Linked DNA regions of Homo sapiens: regions 2, 3 and 4 are each linked to region 1. Evidence: promoter capture Hi-C in 16 types of primary human blood cells and fetal thymus (Javierre and others, 2016). All regions are on one chromosome and are shown on one strand. Each heading gives the region's core, a stretch centred on a gene start or on the middle of the fragment in contact. The rest is flanking DNA. Distances are from core to core; before and after follow the strand shown. Region 1 holds the start of GNAQ (G protein subunit alpha q). Region 2 overlaps GNA14 (G protein subunit alpha 14). Region 3 overlaps GNA14 (G protein subunit alpha 14). Region 4 overlaps VPS13A (vacuolar protein sorting 13 homolog A).

Region 1 (2,700 bases), core at 39-2,538:
GAAATGTGCATACGACAGTTTACTGCCTCAATCACATATTGCAAATCAAAAAAACTAGAATGCCGTTTTGCTGGGGCCTCCTTAGTTTCTCTTCTATTTCATTCTTTCCTTTCCTTTTATTCCACATTATTTTACATTTTCCCATAAGTCATCCATAATTCAATCTCAGTCTAGAAGAGTAAATTCGATTACTCGGCGGCTAAACATCGTGTGCCTTCTCAGAAACAAGAGAACTTGTAAAACAAAAACAAAAACAACTTAAAAAAACAAAAACAACCAACAACCACCAAAAAAACAAAGGCATGAAAAGTTGGAACCTATCGGGAGGCTCTTGGAAACTTGGGCAGCTTCCTTTCTCTGTTCAGGATTTAGATTTCTATCTCACGTTACTTTGCGAACAGCTTCGCCTGTGAATCTCCCCCTACACCTCTGGGCACCGGTGCCAATTCCTTCCCTTCCCTTCCCCAGTAGCCCCACACAGTATAGAGGAGCTTATTTTCTAAGACTGCACCGGTGTCAGAGGTGACGTGAGAGTTTCTAACCGAATGGCGTTTTAGAAATAGGAACGGGAAACACAGAAACGGCTGAGGAGCGACCCCGTGGAGCAGACAGGCACAGCCCGGGAGCGGCGGACGCCAGCGCCGGCGCCGCAGGGAGCGCGTGCGGGGCTCCGCGGGGCCGCCTCCCGCGACTTCAGCAGGGGCCGCGGCCGCGCTCCCGGGCCGGTGGGCTGAGGCAGGCAGAGGCCGCCATATTCCTGTCTCACCACGCCCGGCCGGACGGCAGCCGCAGGTCGGCTGCGGCCCTGGCACGCAACGGCGGCCGCCGGCTCGGGCTGCGCGTCGGCGGCCGGGTCTGGCCCCGACTTCGGCCGGGGGCGGCCGTGACTGCTGCGCCCGCGGACTCTGCCGAGGGTGCGGGAGCAGTAGGCGTCCGCAGAGCCCGCGGGGGCCGGCCCAGCCCGGGAGCCGCGCGGGCGAGGCGAGAGCCGCACTGGGAGGCGCGCCGCGGCGGCCGCGAGCCCAGGAAAGCCTTCCAGGAGGGGCCGGGCGGCACCGCCTCCCGGCTCCCTCCTCCCGCGCCCATCCCCTCCGCCTCTTCCTCCTCCTCCTTTCGCCGCCGCCTCCTCCCTCCCGGATCTGTGCTCCAGTTCAGAGAAAGAAGAAAATGTGTGTGTGTGGCGAGGGGGAGGGCTCGCACTGAGCAGCCGCTCCGCGCCTGGCAATCGGGGCAGGGGGTGGGCGTCTGGCGGGGGCGGGGGCGGAGGCGGAGGCGGAGGAGCGCGCGGTTGCCGGGCGGGACGGGAACCGGGTCTGCGCGCGAGCCGGGCGGTGGGCGCGGACAGGGCCGAGGGCGCCCGGGAGCCGTGTCAGGCGGCGGCGAGGAGCGGGCGCGCCGGGCGCGGGGAGCCGTCGGCGGCCGCTCGCTGCGGGGACACCCCGGTGAATGAGCTCTCGCCGCCAGGCGCACGGCGTAGGGGAGCCTCGCAGGCGGCGGCGGCGGCGGCGGCTCGGGGGGCGAGGCGGGCCGCCTGTTCCCGGGGAAGGAGGCGCGGGCGTCTGAGCGAGGCCGGGCGCGGCGGCCTTCTCTCACGCGCCCCCCGAGCCAGCGCCCGCCTCCCGCGCCCGCCTCTCTTCTCCCGTCGGCCCAGACTATCCGCTCCCACCGCGCCCCCGGCCCACCTGGTGGCCCCGGCCCTGGCCGCCGCCCCCGCGGCGGTTCCCGGAGCTCGTCCCGGACGCGCGCCCGGGCGGCGGGGGCTCGGCGGCCACCGCTGCCTCGGGGGAGCGAGGGCGGGAGGGTGTGTGTGCGCGCTGTGAGCAGGGGGTGCCGGCGGGGCTGCAGCGGAGGCACTTTGGAAGAATGACTCTGGAGTCCATCATGGCGTGCTGCCTGAGCGAGGAGGCCAAGGAAGCCCGGCGGATCAACGACGAGATCGAGCGGCAGCTCCGCAGGGACAAGCGGGACGCCCGCCGGGAGCTCAAGCTGCTGCTGCTCGGTGAGTACCGTCCGGGGCCCCGCCGGGCCTCTGCGCCCCCAGCCCACCATCCTTGGCCCTGCGGGGCAGCTGCCTTCGGCGCCCCCGCCCCCCGGCGCCCGCGGTTCGCCCCTACCCTCCCGGGCGCGCCCCCGGCCACTGCCTTCACCCGCGCGGGCGCGCGGGCGCGTTACACACAGACACACACACACACACACACACACACACACACAGCGACACACACACGCAGCACAGGGGTCGGGGCTGCCCTGCCCGGTGCCTTGGCTTGTTCCTTTTCGTGTCCCTGAGGGCTGTACCTTATCTGCTGTGCATCTGCTAAATGGCAGATCACTCCGACCAGAGGCGCGGGGGTGGAAAGGTGGGCAGAGGGGTTGAACTTCCAGTGTCGTGGCCGCGGCACCCCATGGGGTGGTGGCGTGGGGAGCCGTGTGTGTGGCCCAGCGGGTGGCGAGCGGAGCCGGGGCACGTTGGGGGATGGCCTGCGGTGGAGTGGCCGGTGTGCATCCATTATCAGTGCCCTATGGGGTCAGGAGGGAATGGGGGAACGGTGGGCAGACTCGCAGCTGGATTCCCGGAGCACTCATGGTGAGGAAGCCAAGTGGTTGGCCCTCCAAGGAAAGGGTCTGTGTACTGGGGGCGAGGCGGGAGGGCAAGCCCAAATGTGTCACACAAGTGCTGTTCTCTAGCCACCAGACCATCGA
Region 2 (2,700 bases), core at 70-2,569, 540 kb after region 1:
CAGTTGCAGACTCCTTGCTTTGTCAATTTCAGGAGGCCATGGTTTCCTGTTTGCTGTTGTTTCATGTGATGTATGTCTGTTTCTTTGCACTGAAGGATTAGTTATTAATTCCAGTCTTCTCTGTCTGGCTTGTTCTGTTTTTTTTTTTTTTTTTTTTTTTTTAATTAGGTGTGTTTGCTTAAAGAGTCTTTGTAACTTACTATTTATTTTATTTTTCCTCACACTAAAACACTGCCTCCTTTTTGGCACTAGAGGGTGCCTTGAGCCCAAGCTTTTCTCAATTCTAGTAAAAACCAGAGTGCTGCCCATCTGAATGGGTGAGGTCCCAAATGGGATTCTTAGTAGTATGGGAAGGCTCACTAGGTGTTTGTGCCCAGAGGACCTGTGGAATGTACCTCCTACAGAGTGATGCTGCTGAACACTCTGATTTAACATCAGCTTTGGCTGAGTTACAGAGCAGAGTTTCCATGGTGGTGGATGGAAGTCTTGCCTCCCTGCTTTGTTTCTGGCTGTCCTCAGTGATATTTATCTTTTCAGGCGCTCATGATGCTTCCCATGGATTGAGGGAAGGACAGGTCTCCTGCCAGGGAACCCAAGAAGGTGGGGAGGCTAGTTATCCACCTTGATTTTACTCTTTCCAGTGTAGAAACCCTGAGTCAGGCAGAAATTTTCCATGCACTTGGTGCCGGGTAGATTGGAGACAGCAGAATCAAGGATATGGAAGTTCAGTTATCTTACCACCTCCTCACAGTTTTTTAAATTTCTCTGTGCCCCTAGGAAATATATCCTCCTCATATGTGAGTTCTAAGATATTGCTGGCTTTGTATTTTTTGTTCTCTCAGGTGGAGTGAAGGCAGCTTGCTTCTACACTGCTATTTTGGCCTGTACATTGCTTTAAGTGTTTTTTTTTCTCCCTGAATCTTCCACATTATCAATGACCTTTTTAGATGATGGTCCTGGTATCAAATGTGATGTCAACTGGGTTTTTCAGCTGTGTATAAACTGGCTCCAGTGCCCAACGTGGTATGTTTGGCACATTGTTGTTCCTAATAACAACTCTGTGAGACAGTGAGATCTGAGCGAGATGGTGAGACCTGGATGTGTCTACTGAAACTCTAAAAAGAGACTAGATCATGCTCAGGATGGCTTCAGTGGTAGGTACTTCTAATTCCTTCAAAATCTGTAATTCATAAATGGTTAATATTCTTACTGCTATTTACCCACAATTCTTAATGAACCAAAACATCCTAGTTTTCAGCTGTGAATGTGGTGTGTGTATGTGTGTGTTACATATGACTTGTGTTGGGTTAGGACTCAGTAGTGCCTATCTGTGTTTTCAGTATAACTAAAACAGCAACATGGTTCTCCTGTTTACATTTTTATGTCTCTTGGATTTAGCTTTATCATTTATAAAGTGCTTTTACATACTGGCTTATTTGGCAATTACAAAAATACCATAAGATAGCATTCCTATTTTATAGATAAGGAAGAGGAGATGGCAAAATGTCAATTGACTAGTTAAAGCTCCCTCAACTGCTTACTTTTTTATTTTTAATCAAAGTAACACTGGTACATAATATTTTTAAAAATTCTGTACAGCAATTCCCCTTCTCCATGGTCTCACTTTCTTGGTTTCAGTTACCCATAGTCAACTGCAGTCCAAAAATAATGGAAAATTCCAGAAAGAAACGACTTTAAATTGCACACCATTCTGAGTAGCATGATGTAATCTCATACTGTCCAGCTCCATCCTACCTGGGCCATGAATCATCCCTTCATCCAGTGTATTCATGCTGTATATGCTCTCTGCCTACTAGTCACTTAGTAGCTGTTTCAGTCATCAGATGAAAAAACATAATACAAGCATACCTCATTCTATGCTGCTTCACTTTATTGCAATTTATATATATTGCCTTTTTTTTTTTTTTAACAAATTGAAGGTTTGTGGTAACACTACATTGAGCAAGTCTATTGGGTTCATTTTTCCAACAGCATATGCTCACTTCATGTCTCTGGAAAGTTTTGATAATTCTCCCAATATTTCAAACCTTTTCACTATTATTATATCCATTATGATGATCTGTGGTCAGAGATCTATTATCTTCCTAATGTAATTATTTGGGGGCACCACAAACATGCCCATGTAAGAAGACAGTCAATAAACATTGTGTATATATGTTCTGACTGCTCCATCCACTGGCCAATCCTCATCTATCTCCCTCTCCTTAAAGCCTCCCTATTACCTGAAACACAGTAGTATTGAAATTAGGCCAATTAATAATCCTACAATGGTCTCAAAATGTTCAAGTGAAAAGAGGAGTCACACATCTCTCACTTTAAATCAAAAGCTAGAAATGATTAAGCTTAGTGAGGAAGGCATGTAAAAAGCTGAGACAGCCAAAAGCTAGGCCTCTTGCACCAAATAGCCAAGTTGTAAATGCAAAAGAAAAGTTCTTCAAAGAAATTGGAAGTGCTACTCTAGTGAATACACAAATGATAAGAAAGTGAAATAGACTTATTGCTGATATGGAGAAAGTTTTAGTGGTCTGGATAGAAGATCAAACAGCTGTAACATTGCCTTGGCCAAAATTGAATCCAGAGCCAGGCCCTAACTCTCTTCGATTCTATGAAAGCTGAGAGGTAAGGAAGCTGCACAATAAAAGCTGGAAGTGAGAAGAGGTTGGTTCATGAGGATTATGG
Region 3 (2,700 bases), core at 199-2,698, 600 kb after region 1:
AAGTAACACTTTATAATTCAGGTACCCCTGGAAATCATGGCTCGTTTTACAAATGAGGACACTGAGGCAGGTAACTTGTTGGGGTCCTTAAAAGTCCCAACTACACTGTTTAGAACTCAGGGTCCTGATTCCCAGGCCAGCGCACTTTCCAGTAATCCATCCTGCCTGGACCTTGTTTGAGATCCTACCTGCCTGAAGGTCCTACAGTCTCCAGGAAGAGTTTACATTCACTTTCCTGACAGGTGTGGGGAAAAGTCACATCGATTCATTCACAGTCCTTGGTTAGGATGAGCCAGGTGGATGTGTAAGATCCTCCTTTTCTCTGGCTTGCTGTTGGATAATTATAAGGATGAACAACGCACAATAAAAGTGACTTTTCAGGAGGTACCGTCTACACTTGAGATCCCAGCTACCAAGCAGATGGTTTGCTGACTCACAGCTGCTGCTGTAGCCAGCCCTGCTTGGTGATGTAACTGCTGTGGGATGCAGAAATATGGGAGGGGGAATAAGAGCCTGGGGTCCTGCTTCTCTTGCCAGGATTCACTTGTCTGCTACAACTTGCAGCCAAGGAAAGGATGCTGAGTCTCTGGGGCCAACACGGGGAAATGTTGTGGCTGCAGGCCAACCTTATCTTTTCCATTTTCTGAGGTTTGGAAAGATTTCTGGCTCATGCTAGCCTCCCATTGATTAAATGAGATAATGTATGTAGAGGCCTTGGCACATAGTACATAGCCAATAAATGGTAACCGCTGTAATAGTAATAATTACAGTAATAATGGCCTTAATTACTGTAGTAATAGAGCAATAATTATTTAATAATCATAGTAATAATAAATATGGTAATATAATAATCAGTGGTGTGGGGAGAGTAGTGCATTGGGAGGGAGGCTCCCAGTGGGAAAGAGTTGTATCAGTGATGCAAGAAAATGAAAAGCAGACTGTGTGAGAATGCGCTGTACTTGCCCTACAATTTTGCTGGCAAGCTAAAACTGCTCTAAAAAGTAAAGTCAATTATTATTAATATATTTTTTTTTTTGGAGACAGAGTCTCGCTCTGTCACCCAGGCTGGAGTGCCTTGGCACCATCTCGGCTCACTGCAACCTCCACCTTCTGGGTTCAAGCGATTCTCCTGCCTCAGCCTCCTGAGTAGCTGGGATTACAGGCACGCGCCGCCATGCCCAGCTAATTTTTGTGTTTTTAGTAGAGATGGGGTTTCACCATGTTGGCCAGGCTGGTCTTGAACTTTTGACCTTGTGATCGGCCCGCCTCGGCCTCCCAAAGTGCTGGGATTACAGGCATGAACCACCGCAGCTGGCCAGTGTTTTTTTTTTTTTTTTTTTTTTAAATGAAAGAACAAAATCCCAGACTGATGATAAGTTGTTATTGTGTTTCACTTCTCTAAAGACAAGGCGCCTCCTTATTGCCTGTACCAGGTGGACCAGTTTCTACCACCCAAACCTTGGTGTGCCATTTTTAAATGGCCTCATTGGCTATGCAGATACTCAAATGAGTCATATGTTAATGAAGAAGTAAAGTTTGCTGGTAGGATGAAAGCTCCAGTGACTCTTTATTCACCACTGGGTGTTGTTGAATGCTGGCGAAACTGGCCCAGGACATGGCTGGGCACAGAAGCTGCAGGTCTTGGGCTGCTGGTGGCTCTCTCCACGGAGCTAAGCAGCCACCTCATCTCCACTCAGCATGGCTGCAGTGGGTGTCTTGGCTGTGAGCGGCCCCTGGGAGGGTGCCCACCACGCCCCATGCCTAGTGAGAGCTCTCCAAATCCACAGACCAGGGCAAGACTTGTACCGACATTGCCAATGGGTTGGCTTCCTTTCCTTTGCCTGATGCAAGGTTCTCTTTCCTTTGAGTAGGAAAATGCCCAGATAATCAGAGAAGTGGAAGTGGACAAGGTCTCCATGCTCTCCAGGGAGCAGGTGGAGGCCATCAAGCAGCTCTGGCAAGATCCAGGCATCCAGGAGTGTTACGACAGGAGGAGGGAGTACCAGCTGTCGGACTCTGCCAAATAGTGAGTACAGAGCCCACCCTGGCCGCCCGCGGTGCTTTCAGGCAAGCTCGGCCACACTTCAAAGAAGTTTCTCGCTGAACGCTGCTGAAATGCGGTGCACAGTGGCAGCGCTACTTGCCTTTGCTTTCCCATATCCCTCCTGACCTCTTAGTGCCATCTCTCACCACCTCCTAAAGCCCTCGGTCACTCTGTGGATCGCAGACCTCTCTTCCTGCCGACACCCGCCTGCTCTTGCTGTGTTCTAAGCCTGTCGTTTTCAATGAGAGACTCAAATCAAATCTGAGGTCCCTTAAGTGGGACTGATCTCCTTAGGAGTGCTGAAATTATCTGATTTAAACAAGAAATACCCTTGCTTTTGGCTTCTACTTTCCTCCTCTCTATATCCCTCTGCCTTTCTGGTTTCCCCATCAGAAGACAGCAGGTCCAATTGCGCTAAAATCTAAAGTCAAGTTTAGAGCAGCGGGGCCGTGGACCCATCAGCTGCTGATCTGGTGCTGTCCTCTAGTGGCACAGATAGGAGGCTGCGCTCGCAGCACACACAGGAAGCTCAATCCTTTGTTTATTGGCTGCCTGCGAAGGCCTACACACTGTATTTTGGATCCATACAGCTCAATTTTTAATTCATTAATCCTTGAAGGTAAAAAGATTTCTATTTAGATGTCCCAGCATGCAAA
Region 4 (2,700 bases), core at 178-2,677, 610 kb after region 1:
AGTGGGAGAAAAGTTTGCTGTAACAGCCAGAGTGGCCAAAAATTGACAGTACAGATTACAAGAATCAAAATTTTAACCGACAAATCCTAGCTTGATTAGGTTGCCATTAACAATAAGGTATAATTTCAAAAGTATACTTCAAAGGACTAAGGAGGGTGAATGGGTTTCCTTTTAGAGTTGCGCTATACTGAAAAGCACCAAAAAAAATCAGATTGACTAAGTCTGTATTGAGTCCTGCATACAGAATGTAAGTTATTTACATTTTCTACTTGGATCTTAAAGAAATGAGGAAATCCACTGTTTTTAGTAAAAAGTCATTGATATTTGCATAGCACCCCCCAGACACTGAATATTTTGGCCCTACCAGAATGTGCCCTACGTATTAGCTCCCCATTTTTAAAGGCCTTTGCCACCTGTATGGTGAATCAGCCAAAAGGTAGATGGTGCAGATTCAACGGACTCAAAAGGACAATGTATGTCCCCAGTTCTATTATAGTAAAATGCTTAGTGGTAAAGAGGTTAAAATACATCTAGGTAAACAAAAGACTATGGCCTTTTTTGGGTGCTGTGTGTGGATCTAATTTTTCTATGCTTTTTCTGGTCCCACTGAATCATGTGAGGTTGCCCGATACACAGCAGAGAAGAAAAATATTTTAGAAACCAAGAGTGATTCCATCTTCTCACTCAAAAGAAGAAGTGCTAAGCATCTCTAGACTTCCTGAGTTGTGGATCTGCTGCTCCTTATCTAAGGTCAGGCTCCACACAATCCAGACTCTTCCAACAATCACTGGATGGCCGGTGCCTCCTGCAGCAGTCTTTCAAGCTTTCTTTTTTTAAATTGCATTTCATAACAGGAAACACTTTATATTGTGACCCAGTATACACAGTAAATAGAATATTTAGCTGAAACAGTATTTCAGGAACCAATACTTAACCATTTTATATGCTCTATTGTTCCTCTATTTTTTATTATTTCACGTTTAAAATATACTGGTCTTGAGCTGTTAAGTTGATTTCATGACCCACTAATGAGTTAGGACTTACAGTGTGGAAAAACAGCATCCCTGAGGATTTGGGTTGATCCTGACAAAAGGTAACAAGCAATGCCCTGGAAGCCGAAAAGATTCCTCTGAACTGTGTTGGCTGAGCCATGAAAGCATCCACTGTCAATGTATTTGGTACACACTTTGAGCTTCTACAGGCAAACTAATCAAGTATTTTGTCCCAATCTTTTTAATACAGAGGCCTACATGAGGGGGCACTTGGCATAGCCTGAAGGATCAACTAATACTGGCAAGTGATAACTGAATAATTTAGGTGCAGGAAATTCAGCACTGTGTAGAGTCCTTTTAATTTAATCTTTCTTTTTACCAGAGAGTAATACGATGCTACTATGTGGGATGTTTCTAAGAGATGAGCTAGGTGCATAGATATTCAATGGAACAATATTACCGCTATTACTATTGGAAGAAATGAGAGAGATAATTATGATAGAAAATATCACGTAAGTAAGTGTAAGAAAGATTTATTCACTTGGAGGCCACAGGATAGTTGCCTCCAAATGGACTAGGATTGTGGAGGAGAGGGGTAGGTAAGAACTGTCTACAGGTGGTAATGATTGTTTAGGGTCCAGATAACAACAACTCAGCCACACTAAACTGACCTTGGGATTTTTGTGAACACTAAAGGAAAAGCAGCAAATATGTATACTCTAAAAGGGAAGACACTGGAGAACTGTATGTGCCTTTTGGCTCAGAGAGTATTTTGCAAATGTGAAGAAATCACAAGCTGCTTTTGATCACAAGTACCAGAAATCAAAGTCACTCTTTCTGATTATGATTTTCTGGTGGAGAGTTGGCAGGGAACAGGCACTCTGCCTTAGTCCTCACACAATTATCATAGACCAGAAGACATGCTGTGCTGGAATTAAGGGCCTAGTAATATAGTTAGTTAGCAAATAATACATGGAAGGGGCACAAGACTCAACACCTCTCATTCCATAGCCACTACCAAACAACTAAGACAAGCTTAAATTTCTCCAGCAGAGAGCCATTTCTTGTAGTTAAATGTAATTTAGGGCAGATGGTTTTCAAATACAAGAAGATTCTTATTCTAACCTTCAAGAAAAATGGGCTACAGAATCAAACAAAAACTGTAAATTGTAAAATGTGATGCTAAAAACACTGACTCATTATCTAGTGATCTACTGATTTCTTAGTGTTTTTGTTTAGATGAAGACAATCTTCTAAAACAACAAATGATATGATGTAGCTCTTAAAACTGTGGGTCCCTCTAGTCTAGAGACAAGGAAGTGATGGGAGGAGGTGATGAGTAAACGAGTGGCAGGGAAAGGAGAGATTTCACGGTTCTTATGGCAAGGGAACAGGAAAGACAGGCACTATCCTTTCCATGTGGATTAGTCACAAGACCCACTCCTGCTGGCTGCCAGAGGGCACCAGAAGAATTTCTATGTTTACTATTTATGTAAGGCTTTTCTACTTCACGACACTACACCCAGGGAGGCAGGGGACTGTAATTTTTCTGAGAATGGTGAAATCATAACATTGGGTAATGAAGTATTTCGTTTTGGATGAGGACAGTCTGATGCAAGCTTTCTGACTACCTCTACTGTTAAGTTTAATTCTGACAAAAGCAAAACTGGAGGAGCTTAGCGACAGAGAAAATAAGCACTTTTTTTTT

What was found. Contacts are between HindIII fragments. The CHiCAGO score rates a contact against its expected background, and 5 or more counts as called.
Region 2: a fragment that was not itself captured here is called in contact with the fragment with the promoter of GNAQ in region 1 in 3 of 17 cell types (total CD4 T cells, fetal thymus and naive CD8 T cells); the score reaches 7.9 in total CD4 T cells.
Region 3: a fragment that was not itself captured here is called in contact with the fragment with the promoter of GNAQ in region 1 in 10 of 17 cell types (naive CD4 T cells, total CD4 T cells, fetal thymus and 7 more); the score reaches 10.1 in naive CD4 T cells.
Region 4: a fragment that was not itself captured here is called in contact with the fragment with the promoter of GNAQ in region 1 in 2 of 17 cell types (total CD4 T cells and erythroblasts); the score reaches 7.2 in total CD4 T cells.

What each region holds. Positions count from the first base shown.
Region 1 is chr9:78,030,399-78,033,098 of GRCh38, reverse strand. It overlaps GNAQ (G protein subunit alpha q), which reads left to right and starts at 1,288. Exons shown (of 7, transcript NM_002072.5): 1 at 1,288-1,999. The coding sequence starts at 1,864. RefSeq lists an enhancer at 1,205-2,099. The HindIII fragment of the contact is 11,535 bases long and covers 1-2,700 here.
Region 2 is chr9:77,486,247-77,488,946 of GRCh38, reverse strand. All of the region lies in intron 2 of GNA14 (G protein subunit alpha 14), which reads left to right. The region is part of intron 2 of GNA14-AS1 (GNA14 antisense RNA 1); the gene reads right to left. Among named protein-coding and RNA genes, the nearest start is that of GNA14-AS1, 40 kb to the right of the region's middle. The HindIII fragment of the contact is 2,092 bases long and covers 274-2,365 here.
Region 3 is chr9:77,433,694-77,436,393 of GRCh38, reverse strand. GNA14 (G protein subunit alpha 14) reads left to right here. Exons shown (of 7, transcript NM_004297.4): 3 at 1,872-2,026. Among named protein-coding and RNA genes, the nearest start is that of GNA14-AS1, 13 kb to the left of the region's middle. The HindIII fragment of the contact is 6,132 bases long and covers 1-2,700 here.
Region 4 is chr9:77,417,550-77,420,249 of GRCh38, reverse strand. VPS13A (vacuolar protein sorting 13 homolog A) reads right to left here. Exons shown (of 72, transcript NM_033305.3): 72 at 1-2,700. Among named protein-coding and RNA genes, the nearest start is that of GNA14-AS1, 29 kb to the left of the region's middle. The HindIII fragment of the contact is 1,204 bases long and covers 826-2,029 here.